Regions from separate parts of the Homo sapiens genome. Here region 2 is linked to region 1. The links are contacts of gene promoters, found by promoter capture Hi-C in blood cells and fetal thymus (Javierre and others, 2016). All regions are on one chromosome and are shown on one strand. The core of a region is centred on a gene start or on the middle of the fragment in contact, and the rest is flanking DNA. Distances in the headings are between cores, read along the strand shown.

Region 1 (4,993 bases), core at 662-3,161:
AAAGGAGTCAATGTTATGCAAAGTAAGCTGGCACTAGCAATAAGTAGATGGCTGCTGCATCAGAGTCCCTCCCAGGGATGTCCTGAAACACAGCAGAAAGGGAAATCTTACTGACAAACAGAACTTTGAGCAGAACATCTGCTTTTCTATTTTGCAAGAAAAAAGAGATGGCCCAATGTAAGATCTACACTGACTCATCAGTGGTGGCTAATGTGTTGGCCAGCTGCTACCTTAAGGATTTGGAAAAAACAAGATTGAAAGACTGGTGACACAGAGGTCAAGGTGGGGGAGGCATGTGAGAGAGTCTCTTGAAATGGGCACAGGGTGTGAAGATATTTGCGTCTCATGGAGTGCCCTCCAGAGAACAAATTGACCTGTCCCGTAGATGTCAGCCAGCCTCCTGCCAGCTTCCTTGGGGCTTGCTGAATGTACAATGAGTGCCATGGTGCTGGCATGGAGATGAAGCACAGGCTTAACTCTCCAGACTTCCTTCACCGAGGCTGATGTGGCTTACCAATGCTGAGTGAGCAAAATGCTGAGAGTGAAGGGCAGCACTGAGCCCCCTGTGGCACCATTCCCCGTAGTCCGTGTTAAATGGCCTCTCTTCACAGCATCAGTTCACAGGGTCCAGTAACACCATTGACTCATCTTCCTCAGCAGTTGGAAGAGGGAGGAGGAGAGTTAGTTTCAGCCTCTGGAGTTGGGGGTGAGTGAGGATACTGATGTATCACAAGCAACTAGTGGGCAAGGGGGAAAAGATGACTGAGTTCAAAAGCAATGCCTGGATTGGAAATAAAAGATGGAAAATTGCATTAATTCATAATCATGTGGTAATGCCCCATCGGACTCTGCATTCTTAATCTTTTACCTCTACTGACAGAGAGGCTTTGCTTTTCAGCTGCTGTGAACAAGCTGAAGAGGCCTTATCCTCTTATCTGCAAGAGTGGAAGTAATCACAGGGGGCCCTAAAGGCAAATGTTTACCTGTGTATTTTATCGTGAAAGTGCCAAGGGTCCAGACCTCACCTCTCTTGTCCCACTTTATCTCCAGTACCTAGAAGGGAGGCTGGCACATTGTAACCACTCAAACATCTGTGGATGACTGGAATAAATGGGAGGATGTAGGAATGAATGAACGAATGAATAATCCTTTAGGGAACAATAGAGAGCTGGGGGAGGGAGAAGCCATACCTGATCTTTTATTCTTCTCCAAAACCCTTGAAAAGACTATGAGAGGCCGCATAGAGTAGCCATTAAGACCTTGAACTCTTAATTTAGGATCTACAACTTCCTAGCTGAATGGCTTGGCCAAGTTATTTATTCTCTGTGTACAGTCTTCCTTCCTGTAAAACAAACACAGTAAATGCTTAGAGCAGCACCTGGGAAAAAGTCAAGTTCCACATAAGTGTTACTGTCATTATTTTTGTCATCTTGATGAGTGTGTAAGCCTGCAAGACAATCGGGAAATTCCCTAGGGAGGGTGAATCCAGATACTCAGCTTCCAAGGGCCATTCAAGAGGGAACAATCACCTTTTCTCTTTGCCTTTCATACTGCTTTAGACCCCTCACTGCTTCCTAACATAACTTTCACTGGCAAGAGACGGAGTCCTGGGTTTCAGTTCCAGTTGCCTGCGGTGGGCTGTGTGAGTTTGCCAAAGTCCCCTGCCCTCTCTGGGTCTCGGTTCCCTCGCCTGTCCACGTGAGGTTGGAGGAGCTGAACGCCGACGTCATTTTTAGCTAAGAGGGAGCAGGGTCCCCGAGTCGCCGGCCCAGGGTCTGCGCATCCGAGGCCGCGCGCCCTTTCCCCTCCCCCACGGCTCCTCCGGGCCCCGCACTCTGCGCCCCGGCTGCCGCCCAGCGCCCTACACCGCCCTCAGGGGGCCCTCGCGGGCTCCCCCCGGCCGGGATGCCAGTGCCCCGCGCCACGCGCGCCTGCTCCCGCGCCGCCTGCCCTGCAGCCTGCCCGCGGCGCCTTTATACCCAGCGGGCTCGGCGCTCACTAATGTTTAACTCGGGGCCGAAACTTGCCAGCGGCGAGTGACTCCACCGCCCGGAGCAGCGGTGCAGGACGCGCGTCTCCGCCGCCCGCGGTGACTTCTGCCTGCGCTCCTTCTCTGAACGCTCACTTCCGAGGAGACGCCGACGATGAAGGTGAGTGCCGCGCCACGTACGTCCCCGGGGCGAGCTGTGGGGACCTCTTCGCCAAACTCCCCAAATGGCCCAAAAGCTGGCGAAACCGGACCAGGGACTCCCCTTAGGCGGAAGCCCCAAGGCCACCCTCTGACAGGTGAAGGGACGTCCCAGAGCTCTCGCTTAGCTTTCGGACCCTGGCTTCTGCTAGGACCCTGGCGTCGAGCTTTGAATGTCCCGGAGAGCCACTCACAGAACGCACGCCCGAACCCGGGCAGGGGTAGAGAAACCAACGCTAATGTGCTCTGAAGGCACAAGTTCAAGGGCACCCGCCTTAGAGAACTCCAACTGGCGCACTCCAGACGCCACCCCCACCCCCAGCCCGCGGTCTCCCTCTTCTAACGCACTCCCACCTGCAAATCCTGCTGCCTCTGGAGCAGCCCCGACCCTCCTACGGAAACTGGGGCCACACGCTTCCCTCTAATTGGACTTGATCTGCTCGGCTTGCAGACACCGTGGAAGGTTCTTCTGGGACTGCTGGGTGCTGCTGCGCTTGTCACCATCATCACCGTGCCCGTGGTTCTGCTGAACAAAGGCAGTAAGTTTGAAACATTTGAAAAAGATAGGACAGTTGGAGCTCAGGTCAGGCTCCGTCTTACCACGCTAAGGGAAACGAGGGATTTTGCGTGGGGTTGGACCAGTGCCCCGAAGTGTAGCTGAGAAGGCTTCCCAGTTGTTGTTGCTGCTTGTAGAGCAGCAGCTGGATTCACTTCGCGGGGTCTTCAGTGTTTAGGCTGAAACTCTTGCGGCTTTCACGTCTTGTTATGTATAATAAATGCATGCTTCCTGAAATTAGGGAGAGTCGGGATTTTTAAAATTTCAATTTTAAATTTAATTTGTAAATTTTTAAATTTACATGTAATTTTTGAGAAAAGTTTTTGGGTGTGATCGAAAAAGGAAAAAAGGCAGTGTTTAAAGAGCCCAAAGACAGCAGTAAGGATATCTGAAATGGAAAGGAAAAATGAGAAAGCAAGCCCCAAAATACAGTTTTGAGAAATGATGTTCCACAGGGAACCCAGACTGTTTTCCCTCAAGGGTGGTGAGAATTCAGTTGGAGGGTGGGGAGGCAGGGAAGTAATTGACCAATTTAGCAGTATTGCAGAGCTAAATAATAAAGCTGGTATACACGATAATATTTAAGAAGGGTCTGGAATCAGTGATGTTTTGGTGGATTCTTTTATTTAAGGACTTTCATGTCTTTTTAGCTTGCCTAAATGTATAAAACACTCACATAATGGAATACTCACTGTAGGATGCAAGCAAGTGAGAACTACTAGTTTCAGTCTCCCCTGGCCTTACTTTCCTTTTAAACACTTGCTTTCATTTCAGCATTACACACTATAAATTAGTCAGCCAGTTAAAGCATTCTCTCTGGAAGATTTAGTCAACTGAGGAATGTATAGTCAGTGCTTGCATACTCAAGGAGTCTTATCTAGATTTTAGGATGACAGTTCAGAATTAGATTGTAGAGCTATGAAAACCATGCTTGCTGTGCAATTCAAGGCCAGGGCAAATGTGCCAAAGGTTAAATAACTGAATGGGTTGACCTACTGCTAATGAAATTTGAAGAAACCAGTGGTTGCTACTATTTTATACCATTAAATGACAGTCCACTTAAGCTTGACTCTTGTGGACTGTTAAAATATAACTATTTTCATAAAGCAACTCTTTGTGTAAACCATACATGCAAAGCCTTGTGGGAGAAGAATGTGCTAGTCATACAATTGATAAATATAGGGCTTACAGGCTTACATTATGTTCCAGGCACCGCGTTAGTTGCTGCAAATACAAAGATTAAATTTTGTAAATATAAATATAAAGGCCCTGACCTCAAGGACTGTATAAGCTAGTGGGAACATGCAAACAAATATGACTTGTTTTACATATATATGTGTGTATGTGTGTGTGTGGATACACACATATATAAATAGAAATAATCTGTATGTTTCTCTCCAAAACATCACTGAGGCATCACAGCATCGCTGGAAGTTTGAGTAAAACTGTAATTATCAGAACTTCCGTTAAAGCAAGTTGGAAGGAATACTGTACTTTGATAAGCCACTTGAGATGGCCAGTGAAAAGGCCTAGGGATCTGAGGCTTGCTGCAGTTAACTCTGAGAATTTTGTTTTGCTGGGTAGGGTATACAGGCCAGGAAGAGCTGTTTTGCCATTTCTGCTAAATAGCACCTGGTATCTTCTCCAAATGAAATTTGAACACATTTCAAGAATGTTCTCTTGAGGAGGACTTCCTGAGAGACTCAACTTGTTTCCATATAACTACTCTTATGATTCAAAAAAATAACTTAGAGGTGCTTGAGCAGACTGCTCTGGAGGTTAGAAGGAACACTTCTGGGAAAGTCTCCCCCTCCCGGGTTCAAGTGATTCCCTTGCCTCAGCCTCCCGAGTAGCTGGGACTACAGGCACACACCACCACGCCCGGATAATTTTTTGTATTTTAGTATAGATGGGGTTTTACCATGTTGGCCAGGATGGTCTTTATCTCCTGACCTCATGATCTGCCCACTTTGGCCTCCCAAAGTGCTGGAATGAAAGGTGTAAGCCACTGCACCCGGCGGAGAGACTTCTTATAAGAGGTTTCTTTTGTGGGCCAAGCTTGAATAGTTAACATCAGTTTCTGGAGATAAGATATTCCAGAAAATGCAAATGCCCTGTGTTTCAACACAGAGACATGAGATCACATCCTGTGTTAGGGATTATAAAAGGATCCAGGGCCCCAGAGGAGGGTGGGAAACAGGCAAAAGAGTTTGATTCTAAGCTGGAGATGATGCAGTGAATGATGTTTT
Region 2 (4,993 bases), core at 1,773-4,272, 500 kb after region 1:
CTCATATTTGACTCTAAAGTCATTAGCAGAAAGATGGGCTTTGTCAATCTGCAGAATGATGTGGCCATTGTTCATAGAATTTGCAAAGATCTGAGCCTTCAGGTCCTCAATAGTCTTAAAGTAATGCCCCCAGTCTCTTACCTTGGTTCCTTTCTTCTCCAGGTTTTCCCAAATTTTGTTCTCCAGCCTCTGATTCTCAATCTCCTAGCTCCTCACTCTGTCCAGGTAGGAGGCCTGGTGGCTGTTCAGGCTTTGAATGGTCCCCTTGTTCTGGATGCCCCGCATTCCCACCAGAGCCCTGGCCATCCCTATGACCAGGCCTCCAGACCCCCAGTGTCCCCAGAAGCTGGTGGGGACACAAAGATCCAGGAGCCCAAGCCCCTGACGCCTGCATAGAGGCTAACCACACTGCTGGCAGGCTGGACGCTGTGGCTGGGTGATTGGATGGAGCCCAGGGACTGGTAGTTGGTGGAGAAGGTGGTGAAGCAAGTGGTGAAGCTCATGCTGTCCAGGGAGGAAAGCGAGAGGACAGGTCTCAGGTTGTGCCCAAAAGTCGTTATTTTAAATATCCACTAAAATAGTTTAGAGATTATTCACCATTGCCTGCAGAAAGTGTAAAATATCAGCCGGACACAGTGGCTCACACCAGTAATCCCAGCCCTTTGGGAGGCCAAGGTGGGTGGATTGCTTGAGCCCAGGAGTTCAAGACAAGCCTGAGCAACATGGCAAAACCCCATTTCTACAAAAAATACAAAAAATTAGCCAGGCACGGTGGCGCATGCTTGTAGTCCCAGCAACTGGGGAGGCTGAGGTGGAGAGATCACCTGGGCCTGGGAGGTCAATGCTGCAGTGAGCCTAGAGCATGCCACTGCACCCCAGCCTGGGCAACAGAGTGAGACCCTGTCAAAAAAAAAAAAGAAGTGTAAAACATCCTTAGCATGACAATATATTAAAGACTTCAACAATCTGGTCCTAACCAATATTTTCAGTCTAATCTCCCACCATTCATTCATAAGAACCCCTTACTCTTTTCACACCAATGCATGCCATTCTTTAAATCCAAAAAAATGTTATGCTTCCGTGCCTTCAAACAAGCCATTTCTTTTGTCTAAATCATCTTTTTTTTAGCTAACCTAGAGAACTTCTACTCATACTTCAGGACACAGTTCACTTATTACAACATGTAATAATTTGCTTATTTGGGTGTTAGCCTCTACAAGACTAGATTTCAAACTCCTAATAAGCAAAAATTAATCTTACTTATCCTTGTGTTCCTAGCACCAATTACACTCGTAGGCATGCAGTGTTGAATTATAAATGTTTGCTGAATGATGAATGAATGAACAAATATTCAATCAGGACTCATAGAGATTTTTAGGAGTGGTAGAACCTGTTTTTCTTTCCTCTCCTTTCTCTTCCTCCTCCCCTCAACTACCCCATTCTCATCCACTAAAACTCCTAACCTCAGCAGCAAATAAAAGATCTTTTCTATAAGACACATTATTCCAGGAAGATGAAATAAATGTACTTTTCTTTATTCCACCTATTAGGTAAAACTAAAAACCCTGGACATAATATGTAAGGCAAACACAGGAAGACTCTGAAAGGTGGAGAGAAGATTGCTTGCTAGGAACATCAAAACCCAAAGAACAACATGGTCATGTGTTGCTTGGAATTCATTTTTGCCTAATATATCTGAGACCTGCAGCTGAAGAAGCCAGAAACATGAAAACACCAACATGCATGGGCAAAATAGCCTGAACGAAAGCTTGTTCTCTCTAGCTGAAGGCCAGGAAAACGGTGGCCTAGTCAGACAGAAAATTTTTAGACAAGAAGTGCTCTATTCCAGCCTAACCCCAAGGAAAAAGCTGTTGCTCCACTCCCATCCATGCCAATGAAGGCCACGTGGGGAGCCTACACTTCCACCCTCATGAGACAGTAATGAGATGCTCCAACCCCCTCACCAGAGTGGTATCAAAGAAAGCCAAGTAGGGAGTGAGGACATTCATCCAACTGGCCAATAACATGATCTCCTCCTCCCTGCAGTGTGAGTAAAAACCACACAAGGAGCCAGAACTTCTACCCCCATCAAGCAGTAATGAGGCACCCTCCTCACCCCACTGAGGTAGTGTTAGAGGAGGCCTACTAAAGAATCAAGACTTTCACCATCACCCAGCAATAATGAGGCCACCCCCACCACCGTGTCAATGGAGACCATGTGGGGAGCCAGAATTCCCACCCTCACCCAGCAGTAATAAGGAGTCCCTCCCATTCAAGTGTCAGCAAGGCCAATTGGAGAACCTAGACTTCCATTCCACCTGATATTAACAAGGTGGCACCTCCCTCCTTCCACTACTAGAGTGGTGTCAGAGAAGTGCAATCAAAAGGGAAGGTTTAAATAAGATTTAGAGTCTCATAACATAATATGAAAATGTCCAGATTTCAATGTCCAGAGAACAAACATAAAAATCACACGTCACACTAACAACCAGAAGGTCTCTACTGAGTGAAAAAAAGTAATAGATGCCAACAACAGATGATAGAGGTGCTAGAATTACCTAACAAAGATTTTAAAGCAGCCATTATAAACATATTTCAATGAGTAATTACAAACAGGCTTGAAAAAATGAAAAAAAAAAGCTTTAGCAAAGAAAAAGAATGTCTCAACAAATAAATGAAAGATATAAAGAACCAAACTGAAATTTAGAACTGAGAGATAATAGTAACTGAAATTTTAAAAGGCTCAGTGAATAAGTTCAACAGCAGAATGGAGGAAATAGAGGAAAGAAATGATGAACAGAAAGAGCAAACAATGCAAATTACTCAATCTGAACAACACAGAGGAAAAAAGACTTGAAAAAAGTGAACATGCTTCAGGAACCTTTGGAAGTATTTTTTAAATGTAATATTTGTGCCATTGAAGCCCTGGAAGGAGAGAAAAATGAGGGCAGGGATGAAAAAGTACTTAAAGAACTAATGGCTGAAAACTTCCCACATTTAGCAAGAAACACAAAACTACAAATTCGTGAAGCTGACTGAACCCCAAACAAGATAATAAAATAATACACAGGAAGACATACCATAATTAAAATTATGAAAACTAAAGACAAAGTGTTGAAAGCAGCCATGACACCTTATATGTAGGGGAAAGCAATTTGAATAACAGTGAGTTTCTCCCTGGAAAAACCATGGAGGCCAGAAAGAAGTAGCACAGTATCTTTCAAGTGAAAAGAATTGTCAACCCAGAACTTTACACCCAATGAAATTATCCTTCAGGAATTAAGGAGAAAGCAGTACATTCTCAGATAAAGGAAAATTATGATAGTTTTTCAAAAGTAGACCTACCCTAAAATAATAGCTTTAAAAAAGCTCTCTAAACACAAATGTTAAAAGAAGGAAGCTTGGAACATCAGAAACGAAAAAAGGATGTAGCAACAGAAATATGGGCGAATAAAATGGGCTTTCCTTTGCCTCTTGAGTTTTCTAAATTATGATAGAACATTGAAACAAAAATTATAAGACTCTATTATGTGGTTCTAAATGTATATGTAGAGTAAATATGACAATTATAAACAAAGGAGAGGAAAGGGATGGAGGTAGCATTTATATACTTTATGCAAACTGGTAAAATAATGATGCCAGTAGATTGTGATAAACTATATATGATGCAACACCTAAAGCAAACTTTTTTAAAAAAACTATGCAAAGAGATACACTCAAAAACACTATAAATAAAACAAAATGGAATACTAAAAATTGTTCAAGCAACCCACTAGAAGACAAGAAGAAGAAAACAGCTAAGAGAACAAACATAAAACAAAAAATATAGGGTAAATTTAAGTCCTGTTGAAATAGGAAAAGTTCCCTTGTTCCCCACACAGGGCGTGTGATGGGGGTGTGGCTCGCTTCTTCATGACTTGCTGCTCAAAACCCCTAGGGGGAGCAGGAAGATGGGCAGGTCATGGGGAATGTGGGCTCTGACCTATGGCAGCGTCTAGGGGTGAATGTTTACAGCTCCTGAGGCCCCAGTGGGCATGTGTTACAGTGTGCTCTTTCAGTGTAGCCTTTCAAAGGCGGCTTGTGTTAATCAGCGCAAATTGCCTCATCGCAAGGACAGAGGGCTTTCTGTATCCCGGGTTCTTGCCTTAGTGTACCTGAAAAATCGGATCACACATGGGCTTGGAGAATGACTGCAAGGTTTTTTATTGAGTGGTGGTAGCTCTCAGCGAGGTGGATGGGGAGGCCAGAAGGGGAATGGAGTGGGAAGGTGGTTTTCCCCTGGAGTCGGTGTGCCCAGCGGCCAGACTCTCCAACCGCTCCAGCCAAATTCCCCTCAGGTCCGCATTGTTGCGCCGGTTGATGGCCTGCCAGCATCTGTTGGTGCCTGTCGGCGTGCTCTTCAGCCAATGTGATCTTCTCAACGTCCAACCATTTGTGTGTTCCACCAGTGTGATCCTCTCAATGTCCAGCCACTTGCATCTCTGCCCACTAGGGTCTCAGGGTTTTTACAGGAACAGGATGGAGGCATAGCAGACCAGGGTGGTCTTGGAAAATTCAACATTTGGGCACGAAAACAGAAATGCCTGTCCTTACCTAGGTCCGTGGGCACAGACCCGGGGCGGAGTGCTGGCCAGGGACCCCACCCTTCTCCTAGCATTTCCCTGCCCCCTATCCCATATCACTAATTAAAAAAACAGTGGATGAATGGATTTTAAAACAACAACAAAATACAGGTTGGGGTAGTGGTTCATTCTTGTAATCCTAGTGCTTTCAGGAGGTTGAGGCAGGAGGATTGCTTGAGGCAAGGAGTTTGAGACCAGCTTGAGCAACATAGCAAGACCCCCATCTTAGATTACCAAAAATAAAAAACAAACTTAGCCCAGCATGGTGGTATGTGCCTATAGTCCCAGCTACTCAGGAGGCTGAGGTGGGAGGATCACTTGAGCCCCTTGATTACTTGAGCAGTTTGAGGCTGCAGTGATCTATAATCACA

The links. The method cuts DNA at HindIII sites, captures the fragments that hold promoters and counts their contacts. A CHiCAGO score of 5 or more calls a contact.
Region 2: a contact is called between a fragment that was not itself captured here and the fragment with the promoter of DPP4 in region 1, in 2 of 17 cell types (non-activated CD4 T cells and M2 macrophages). The highest score is 6.2, in non-activated CD4 T cells.

Annotation. Positions count from the first base shown.
Region 1 is chr2:162,071,133-162,076,125 of GRCh38, reverse strand. It overlaps DPP4 (dipeptidyl peptidase 4), which reads left to right and starts at 1,911. Exons shown (of 26, transcript NM_001935.4): 1 at 1,911-2,150; 2 at 2,640-2,727. The coding sequence starts at 2,145. It overlaps DPP4-DT (DPP4 divergent transcript), which reads right to left and starts at 1,269. Exons shown (of 3, transcript NR_147697.1): 1 at 1,191-1,269; 2 at 515-648. RefSeq lists a promoter at 1-1,506, enhancers at 1,061-1,758, 2,193-2,392 and a silencer at 1,783-2,042. The HindIII fragment of the contact is 4,875 bases long and covers 1-3,810 here.
Region 2 is chr2:161,575,582-161,580,574 of GRCh38, reverse strand. It overlaps the pseudogene KRT18P46. Among named protein-coding and RNA genes, the nearest start is that of SLC4A10, 46 kb to the left of the region's middle. The HindIII fragment of the contact is 760 bases long and covers 2,643-3,402 here.